2 separate regions of the Homo sapiens genome follow, and region 1 is linked to region 2. The links are contacts of gene promoters, found by promoter capture Hi-C in blood cells and fetal thymus (Javierre and others, 2016). All regions are on one chromosome and are shown on one strand. The core of a region is centred on a gene start or on the middle of the fragment in contact, and the rest is flanking DNA. Distances in the headings are between cores, read along the strand shown.

Evidence for each region. The method cuts DNA at HindIII sites, captures the fragments that hold promoters and counts their contacts. A CHiCAGO score of 5 or more calls a contact.
Region 1: a contact is called between a fragment that was not itself captured here and the fragment with the promoter of WWC2-AS2 in region 2, in 1 of 17 cell types (megakaryocytes). The highest score is 5.2, in megakaryocytes.

What each region holds. Positions count from the first base shown.
Region 1 is chr4:182,908,223-182,913,557 of GRCh38, forward strand. All of the region lies in intron 3 of DCTD (dCMP deaminase), which reads right to left. Among named protein-coding and RNA genes, the nearest start is that of DCTD, 6.5 kb to the right of the region's middle. The HindIII fragment of the contact is 1,680 bases long and covers 2,499-4,178 here.
Region 2 is chr4:183,095,661-183,100,470 of GRCh38, forward strand. WWC2-AS2 (WWC2 antisense RNA 2) reads right to left here and starts at 3,539. Exons shown (of 1, transcript NR_024008.1): 1 at 1,361-3,539. WWC2 (WW and C2 domain containing 2) reads left to right here and starts at 3,597. Exons shown (of 23, transcript NM_024949.6): 1 at 3,597-3,962. The coding sequence starts at 3,832. RefSeq lists enhancers at 716-1,010, 2,356-2,650 and a silencer at 2,356-2,650. The HindIII fragment of the contact is 3,980 bases long and covers 2,445-4,810 here.

The DNA of each region.
Region 1 (5,335 bases), core at 2,089-4,588, 190 kb before region 2:
TAAAGCTTTAGTCATTTCAGCCAATTTCAGAGAAGATCAGTCAAAATCAGCACAACTGACATAGAACAGATCACCAGAATCAAGACTATGAGAGTAATCATTCTCAGGTAACCACACTGTACAGCAATCCCTGTGTTTCTAAGCAAAGACTTAGCAAAGTTAAAGAAATAAAGAAGTGGCCGGGCACAGTGACTCAAGCCTGTAATCCCAGGACTTTGGGAGGCTGAGGCGGGTGGATCACCTGAGGTCAGGAGTTTGAGACCAGCCTGGCCAACATGGTGAAACCCCATCTCTACTAAAAATACAAAAATTAACCAGGCGTGGTGGCACGTGCCTGTAATCACACAGCTACTCCGAGGCTGAAGCAGGAGAATCGCTTGAAACCTGGAGGTGGAGGCTGCAGTGAGCCAAGATTGTGCCACTGCACTCCAGCCTGGGTGACAGAGCAAGACTCTGTCTCAAAAAAAAAAAAAAAAAAAAAAAGAAGAAGAAGAAGAAGAAGAAATAAAGAAGGAATATCCATTTGCATTCAGATCATTAATGTGCTCAAATACTTAACATAGCTGTTTTCTAAATTAGTTTGCATGTGCCCCTGACATTTTATCAAGGCTACTAATTTTTCAACAAACCTTTTATCTTGAGAGATTACAGTACAAAGATAAACTTCAGCCCACTTCTGGGAACCCTGGAACCACTACTTTAGATTAAGTTTTATTTCAAACTTCTACGAGGTGAACTGACTCAAAAGTCACTTTTTATAGAAAGGAGACAGATATGTGTATTTTCATGGGTAGGTCCAATCCCCAAACATTTCAGCTTTTCCTAACATGTGTGCTCTTCAAAACAAGGAGTTATTTTGTTACTATATGTCTTTCATAGATATTCATAATGAAATAGTAAACTCTAGCACTTTAAAAATAATTAACTCTGTAACTATAAAAATACATAAATATCAAAATAAATTATATTAAAATATCATTATTTATTCCTTTCTGAAAACTGTTTATAAACAATTATATCTTAAAGTAAAACATGCTTACATGGAGCTGGTTGATTTTAGTGGGTGGGAGAAGACTCATATATACACTGGTGTGTCCCTCTGTTTATCTGAAACCCCACACGATCACAGCTGAGTTTGCCCCTTGATTCGTAAAAATAATCTACTTAATTTCTTTTCTATGCAGTTGTTCAAAGGTTTTCCATTGATTATAACAGTAGTTTTGTACAAAAGTCCCTAATTAGACCTGCTGTCGGGCCACAACTAGTAGAAGGCCAGGCAGGGGAGGAGCGGCAGGAAGCTTTAAGTGAAATTAAATTCTGCAGGAAAAGAAACAGCAAGTTATCAAATTCATGGACTGACTAACGAAACCAGAGGACATTCAATTTCAGGACGGAAAGAACAAATTTGATCTTAATTACTAAGAAGCTCTTACAAGTTGTGAGGAAGTCATATCTTAAGAAGGATCAGCCTCCTAACTTCTTGATAAATTAGTTTCTCAACACTAACCTTTCAGATGCCAAAGAAATATATCACGTGCATGGCAGTCAGGAAAATGTCAGTGTTCAAGGGGGTAAAGTAAATGGCTAAGTAATCACAAAAGTGACATCTATGCATGCTTAACAATATGCTAAGTCTGAAAAATAAAGATGAAATTTAAATAGAGAATTTAAAGAGGCACTGCCCCACACTGGCAAAGGTGTTTAAGATGCTCTGCTGAACTCTTTCGCCTTAATTAATTCCAGGTTTTTCAGCATTTTCCTTCCCAGCATTACATCCTTTTTAGAGTATCCCTGTAGACATAGGAACTGACTCGGGTAAGAGCCCCACTTCTACCCAACGCACTCAGAGTGAGGCCTCCCCCGACTCTTGGGGACACTGAGATGCTACGGTTCCCTCCCTGGTGCAGTGAGATGCAGCAGGCCAAGCAACCCTGGCTCCCTGGTCCATTGGGTGGGATAGGAGGCCAAGCACAGAGGCACTCACCAAAACCCAGAGCCCTTTGCCAGCAGAAATCAGCAAGGCCACAAGTGCTGGGCAGCTGGATACATGTGGCAAGCATTACTAAAAATTCCCTTAAGTTTAACAACGGGAACAAGTTAATTCTCCAACTCTCTAATTTGTAAACTATATCATCAAAATCGGTTACGAAAACCCAAGGAAAGAGTGATATCTGAATCACCAAGAGTATTTTACCTCATTTGATAACATTGGTATTTTGATTAAATGTGCTTCACTATAATGAATTCCACAAAGAAAAAGGAATGAAAAATGTCAACTGAATACTTCATCACAGGTTTAGCAACCCACCCCCTCATGAAAATAAAAATCTTCCCAAGTTTTTTAATCTTGTAAATTAGATAAATCTGCTGCTTCCTCTTTTTTAATTGTCATTCATCTGAAAAGATTCTTAGTATAATAACATTGCCTTCTTCCTGCCACTTAATGTTACTGACATCATATTATCTTTTGGATTTTTCAGGAAAAGGATGGAATAAAAAGCTTCTTTAGCAGAGGGAATTTTCATTTTCCACATTAATACTACATTATAATAAAATAGTTTTATGAAGTTTTGATCCCAAGACTGGAAGAACAAAAACACCCTTTAAAAATAACTCTCTAGAGACACAGCCCAGGAAAAGCTCCATCTTCCTATTATGTTACAAGTAGTGTGTGTTTCCCTCCTCCCCACAAGGCATCAATCAGGACTAATGACTTCCGACTTACGGAATTAATAAAGCAGTATTAAGCTGTATGTTATTTGGTAAACTCAAATTTACACAGTTCTCAAGCTCCCTGTCACAGTCCCTTGGGGCTGCTATAACAAAGTCCCATAGACTGGGTGGCTGAGAAACAATGGACATTTATTTCTCATGGTTCTGGAGGCTGGAAGTCAGGACACCAGCATGGTTAGATTCTGGCAAGGTCTCCTTTCAGGGTTGCAGATAGCCATCTTCTCCGCCTATCCTTGCACATGGAAAAAGAGTAACTGAGCTCCCTGGGGTCCCTTTTAGAAGGGCACTAATCCCATTCAGGAGAGCTCCACCCTCATGGCCTAATTACGTCCCCCCAGGCCCCACCTCCAAATATCAGCACATTGGAATTAGGGTTTCAACATGTGAATTTGGGGGGAGACACATTCAGTCCACTGCACTCCCCTTTGAAGAAATGTTACAGTGAGCCACGCATGTGGCTTTCTGCATGATGCCGGACACAGGCCACCCCTCCCCGAGCTCCTGATCTCTGAGGAGTAATTATTTTATCGGAGCCTCAGTCTGATCAACTGCAAAAAAAAATGAGACAATGATTGGCATTTCAGTACAGCTGAATTCATGTGCCCCACAGGAGAGACACAGGGAGGTAGCAGGAAGAGCACTGACCTTGGAATTAGGAGATGTCACCCTGCATGTGTGACATTATAGAAGTTACTTACAAGAAAGGAGGAGGCTTAGATCCTGTGGGCATAGAACCCTGAGACACTACTAAGGTATTGCAAGGGGTCCAAGCATATCCACAACTGGATAAATCCCATGTCCAGGACATACATAAACTTTTCCCAAACATACATAAATGCTATCCAATTAATAAAGTTCAGATTAACAAAAAATGTTACTGATACGAAGTAGTTTTTGTCATTGTGGAGTTTCTTACTCAAAAGATACTAAGAATTTAGCATTATGCAGGGGTCCTGGAAGTTTTTCAGCATTTAAAAGAGGGTCCTGTACATTCAAAAGAGTTAAAAATCATTGTCCAGAACTCGAGATAATCTCTAAAGCTCCTTTACAGGGATTAACCTATGAATTTACCCTTCCTGCTACAGCAGCTCAGTCACCATTAATGTAGATGAGGAAAGAATGGGTTGAGCTATCCAACTCCAGGCAGTATCCCCTTATTTTTTAAATTAATTTTGAAAATCTTAAAACGAAAGCAAAAAAAAAAAAAAAGACTTTGCATTTGAGTCAATTATCAGCAAACATTTCTGTGACATCCCAGGCAATCCAAACATTTACTTCTCTGTGGCCTGAAAAACCTTGAGAAGACAACAAGTGTACAGTTTATACACAGTCATCGTCATTTAGACTTTAAGCCCATCTTTACTGTATTATGGCGGCAGTAATACTAAATGCCTTTTAGAAACCATTTAATACCTTCTACAACTTTTATGGTACATCAAATTACAAGCTTACTCTCGTGAAAGAAAACTGTCGACATTCTAACACAGCTACATATAAATGAATAATTGATAAGTAAGAGCAAAGAGCTTTGAAAACCTAGAGGTATCATATGGATAATAAAAAATAATGCAGACAGACAACCAGTGCCCAGGAGCTCAGGAGCTATTCAATAAAAAACAATCGGTGAAGTTGGACAAATACCTATGCAGGTTTTTAAAAAAATTCCTTCTAGAAAGGGGCTCTGAAAGGTACTCTCCTCAATTTGGACAAAAGGCAGTGTCTCATAACCAACAAAATCAGCTACACGGGAAGTCAGGAGAGCTGGGAAGTCTGGGGTGTGGGGCAGGTGCTGCAAATGTACTGCATGGCCCTTGGCTTCCAGGTCACTGCTTAAAGATCTGCTGGGGGCTCTGGGTGACTGAAGAAGGCACAGGCCCCATTGGGAGGCCCACTCAGTGCTCACCCAGGACCCCTCCGCACTGTCCAACCACGGGTATCTTTTGCACCAGCTTGAGTATGACGGACCGCCATCCCCCCAGAATTCCTCCATATCAAAGTCCAGCCCCAGGGCCAATATTTCACTGCCCAGACTCGGTGACATACTGACTGTGGCCGTCACACAGTTCAATGCAGACCTTTAACATATCGACCCTCCACTTTCACCATTTTTATAGGGGACTTTGAACCGCACTGTGAAAAATTATCTTTGCATGGACTTAAAAACAACTAATCACTTCCCTTCTTTCTTACCATCAAAAGCTTATAGAATCAAAATCAGGGTGACAGTTTCTGAGTCCGCGCATTTTTCTAATTAGTCATCCACTACCACCGGCTCTGAAGCTGTGCTGAGAAGACAGTCTTACCCTCCCCCAACTCCATCCTCTCTTCCCACTCCGACGAGGGAGGGTGAGGTTAAATCAAGGATCTGAGGATTCGGTCCCCTTCATCCCTAAACTACTTTTCACATCCTGGAAACCCAGACTGCTTTGCAGTCCTCAGTTCCTCCTCTCTCTCCAGGTACCTCTTAACTTTTTCTTTCAAACATGGAGAAGTTGCCCCTAGGCAATTTAGAAAGAAATTTATGGGGCTTATTTAACATGATTGAGGTCCAGGAACATTAGTAAAAATATATAAATTAGACTAAATGTTGACTTGGATTCTT
Region 2 (4,810 bases), core at 2,289-4,788:
GAAAATAATTGTACTGGGATTGCTGGATTAAAGGGGTGTGTGTGTGTGTGTGTGTGTGTGTGTGTGTGTTTACATATAAACATTTTTTTTAAGAGGTAGGGTCTCCTTATGTTGCCCAGGCTGGAATGCAGTGGCTATTCAAAGGCACGGTTATAGTGCCTTGAACTCCTAGCCTCAAGTGATCTTCTTGCCTCAGCCTCCTGAGCAGCTGGGACTATAGGTGTGCTTGATATATTTTATTTTTATTTTATTTTTTTTAGATGGAGTATTGCTCTGTTGCCCAGGCTGGAGTGCAGTGGCAGGATCTCGGCCCACTGCAACCTCCGCCTCCCAGGTTCAAGCGATTCTCCTGCCTCAGCCTCCCGAGTAGCTGGGATTACAGCTGCCTGCCACCACACCTGACTAATTTTTGTATTTTTTAGCACAGACGGGGTTTTGCCATGTTGGCCGGGCTGGTCTCGAACCCCTGACCTCAGGTGATCCGCCCACCTCAGCCTCCCAAAGTGCTGAGATTACAGGCGTGAACCACCACGCCCGGCCCACCTGATATCTTTTAAATTTGTACATAATAGAATTATCTTTTAAAATAATTTTCACTGTCTACTCCCATTTTTGATATTACCAATTTTCCTGCCACTCAAGATTAGGACATTGACAGTGGGAGCTTTGTTTATGGTGGCTTATCCCCACGGATTTAGCGCTGGAGAGAAAACGTAAAGCTAGGAGAAAAGAACATTTTGAAAGCCACAGAATAGGCTCTTCAGCGGCTAGAACACGGTTCCAGGCTAGGGCAATATGGCGTCCTGTACACCGGATTGCATCATCTTTCTTTGCCAAGGATCATCTGGAGCTCAAATCAAATCTAAATGTGTCCACCTCTAAAATGGGGATAATCTTCATGTTTCTTTTCCTTTTACAGATATAAATGCAATTTCATTGTCTTGACCGTTAGGAATTCTCTGAAGGTCTGTTACTACGTAAATTGTGTGAACTCCGAACAGCAGAGTTCAAACTTGATCAGAACAAAAAAGGCTAGAGAGTGGCAACTCTCCTTTCCGTCATTTTAATGGCTTTTGTATGACCAAATGTTTCCTTGCCAGTCAGTGGGGAAGAAGCAGCGAGCTTGTCTCTTAATTGCTTTAGAGTTCTGTTTGTCTATTTAGCGTTTCTTTTTGAAGTCTGAAGATTTATGGAACAATAAACGTCATTTAATGCTGCGTGCTATTTTGGATTCCTCACTGGTTTTAGAATTTGGGTAAAACTACTTAGCTGAAAGTTTAACAAATTTGAAATTACAAGTATTGTAGAATAGTTCATCTCAGTGACATAAAATTACGGCAGCAGCAAAGTGTGTTACTTTGGTTTTTTTTTTTTAATAGTAAGATGTAGACATTTTAGTATAACAAATGTTTTCAAGTTGTTTGGGAAATAAATAAGCTAGGAAGCAAGGTTTAAATAAGAATGGTTTGGTTTGGTGCTGAATGATGTTGTTAGTACACCGCAATTCAAGTGTTGGCTATGCATTTGGGCCAATTTAGGGAAGTCCAAAACAACGCACATTCGCTCAGTAGTGTGAGAGATTAATTGTAGGCAGGTCCCATCTTTTTTACAGTATTCAAACGTTCAACCTTAAGACCCCACCAGGGCGTCTCATTCCACCGGGAACTAGAGAAGCTTGACTTGTGTGATCACCTCCTGATGAATGGACTGGGGCGGAACACAGATCCGGAGGTGGGGGCTTCTCTTCACCAAGCGCAAAGCCTACCTTCCAGAAGGCTGGCTGCACAAGCGGCCGCCCTAAATGCGGTCAAAGCGGGCAAATTCGCCGTGGGTGCCTTCCTTCCCTACCTCCGGCCCACTCTGGTTGCTCCTTCCCAGGTGCTCCAAGCTCTCCAGAGTTTCTGGTGGTTTAAAGTTTCCGCTTCACGCCCAGACTGCTCTAAGGGCAAACACGACCCCTTTCCTCTTCTAGGACCCCTTCCGTGAAGTCTGTTCCAACCCTGAGCCTCTCCACCTTCGAGATTGGCCGCAGATGCCCCGACGGGATGGCCTGGGGAGCCGAAAGCTGTCCCCAGCCCCGGACAGCTACTGCCCACGCCGCGCAGGCCAGCCTCACACAGTAGCGAATCTCCTTCACGCGACTTCCTCGCAGGCCTGTGAACCCGCAGGGGAGGCGGAGGTCGGTTCAAACCCTGCGAGAGCCCCTGCCCAGCGCGGAGTCCTGCACACGGTGGAAAGTCCTTACGCATTAGCGGGCAGGATTAAACGACTTCACACCACGAGGTGCAAGACTGGGCTTCGGGGCCTTCCTCGGTGTTGCTATTTTAAAAGAAGCTGCTCAGTAACCCAGAAGAAGATGACGGGGGACGGTGGTGTAGACCCGGCTGGAGAGGAGTCCAGGGCCTGGGAGGCGCCCCCTCTGACTGAGGGGCTGGGGACCCTGAAGCTTGGCGTCCAGGCCCCGCCAGCGCTGCACCCGGCATTGTCCCGCCTGGGGCAGGCGTCCGGTCCCTCGGCAGTGCGGGCCAGCACGTACGTAGTAGCTGCTGAATAAATAAATGCCTATGCAACAGGGAACGTCCCGGCCCACCCCGGCCGGGCCAGGGCCTAGGAAGGGCGGGCGTCCGGCGCCGCCGTGGGTCCCTCCGGCGTGGCCGCCCACACCTCCTGGCCACGGCGGGGCTGCGGTGGGGGGACATCCTGGGGCGGGCGGCTGGACGGAAGGGACTAGAGTCGGGGCGCGTCCACGGCCAACCGCCCCGAACCAAGCAGGGGAGGCCAGGGACCAGGAGCTTCCGGGGCCCCGCGGCTGGAGCGCCCGGACGCGAAGGGGCGGCGGGTGACGGGGCGCGGTGCGGGCGGCTACAGGGCCGGACGGGAGTTCCTCCGCTTTCCGCCGCGCGGCTCGCGGTCTCAGCCGAGGTCATCGAGGGCCAGGAGCCCTGGCGGAGGCCCCGCCGTCCCGGACCCACCGACGCACTCCCAGGGCTTGGCGCTTTCCCACCACCCCGGACCGCCCTTGGGGTGCCGGAGGGGCTCGGGGCGCGGCGTGGGGAGCCTTTGTGCCCTCTCCGCTTGTTGAGGTTTTTTCTCCGGAGGAGAGCTCCCCGCCCGCCACCCCTTTCCTCTCGAAAGTTTTGTGGTTTCCCTAGAAGACGAAAGAGGTTGAGAAGGTTGCGGAGACTTTTGCAATCTTCCCCGTCCAGAAACTCTAAAACCTCTCGGCGTTTGGCCCAGGGGAGCTATCTGGGGTCAAGGGGAGGGAGCTGGCCGCACATTCCTTCGCCCGCCTTCCTCCCACCTGGAGCCGCGGCCCCGCGGGGCAGTGCGTCCGAGCTGGTGCGGCGACGCCGGCAGCGGCGGGGTTAAGCTCAGGAATGCGGCGCGAGGAATGCGCATGCAGATGAGGCGGGCGGGCGCATGCTAATCGCATGCAAATGAGGGGCCCGCCGCTGCCGCGGCAGCGCCGCAGCTTCCCGGATCCGAGCCCAGACGGCGGCGGCTCCGGCAGCCTGGGCGCCGCGACCCTCGGCGGCCAGAGGGGGACGGGGCGGAGGAGGAGGAAGAGGCGGAGGCAGCGGCGGCGAGGGGGAGGAGGGTTCGCTCGCCGGCTCCGACGCAGACATGGTGGACTGATCCGCAGCGGGGCCGCGAACAGCGTTTCCTGAGGCACCTCCCGCGCGTGGTTCCGCCGCGCCCCGCGCCCTGCGCCCCTCAGCCCCTCGCCGGCGCCCGCGTCGCGGGTTGGCAGCCTAGCCCGGCAGCCGCGTTCCCGCCGCGTCCCGCGCCCGGTACCTATGGAGGCGCCGCTCGCCGGCGAGGCCGCCGACCATGCCTAGGAGGGCCGGGAGCGGTCAGCTGCCGCTGCCCCGGGGCTGGGAGGAGGCCAGGGACTACGACGGCAAGGTCTTCTACATTGACCACAACACCAGGAGGACCAGCTGGATCGACCCCCGGGACAGGTGGGCGCCGGCCGCGGGGGCGCGGGCCCGTTCGGACACGGCGGCTGTTGTCCCGGAGACCCGGCCGCGCGGGGGGCTGGGGCGGCGCCGGCCCGCGGTGCCCCGAGGGGTCCCGGGAGGGATGTGGGGCTGGCTGCTCCGGCGGGGCCGAGGAGCCGCCCGTACCCGGGCTCCTCCGCCCACCGGCTTCCCGACGCCCCTCCGGGGACCCGGCCCCGAGGCAAGGCTGGAGTCGCTGCCCCGGGCCGACGCCGCGCGCCAGGCTAACGGACCCGAGGGGCCACCTGAGCCCTGTTAGGAACTTCCCTAGGCTTCGAGGTGCCCACGTGGAGGCTGCAGGACACCTTCGGCCTCTGGGCGGCGGGGGTGGGCTAGGGCCTCACTGCCAGTTGGGGAACGAGCCCTCCGGGCCACCTGTGGCATCCCTCAGGCCGTCCTTGGCGCGGGAGCCTGGGCTGCGAGCTCTTGGCGGGGGCGCCCAGACTGGCCGGAGGTCCCGAGCTGGGAAGGGGCTCCCGCCCCCCGCCGGGCCCTGCTAGTGGGTGTGACTGACTTTGCCCCTCAGAGTTTAAAAACGCGCGTTTGGGGGTTTCGCTGTCTGTCGTTAGTCTTCACCTGAAAACTTGAACCGACTCCCAGATCGGGAACAGGCATATTGTGTTTGGAAGGGAGATGTAGTGAAATTAACGTTGGGTATTGAGGCACTCTGATTTGAGCTTAGCCTGGTTTCTTTGTTTTTTGTTTTTTAAATTGGTTCAGGAACTGAAGGTTCACAAATGTTTCTGTGTCCCATATTTTTTTTACCCTTAAAATTTCTTAGAATTATTGTAAGAATAATAGGAGGTATT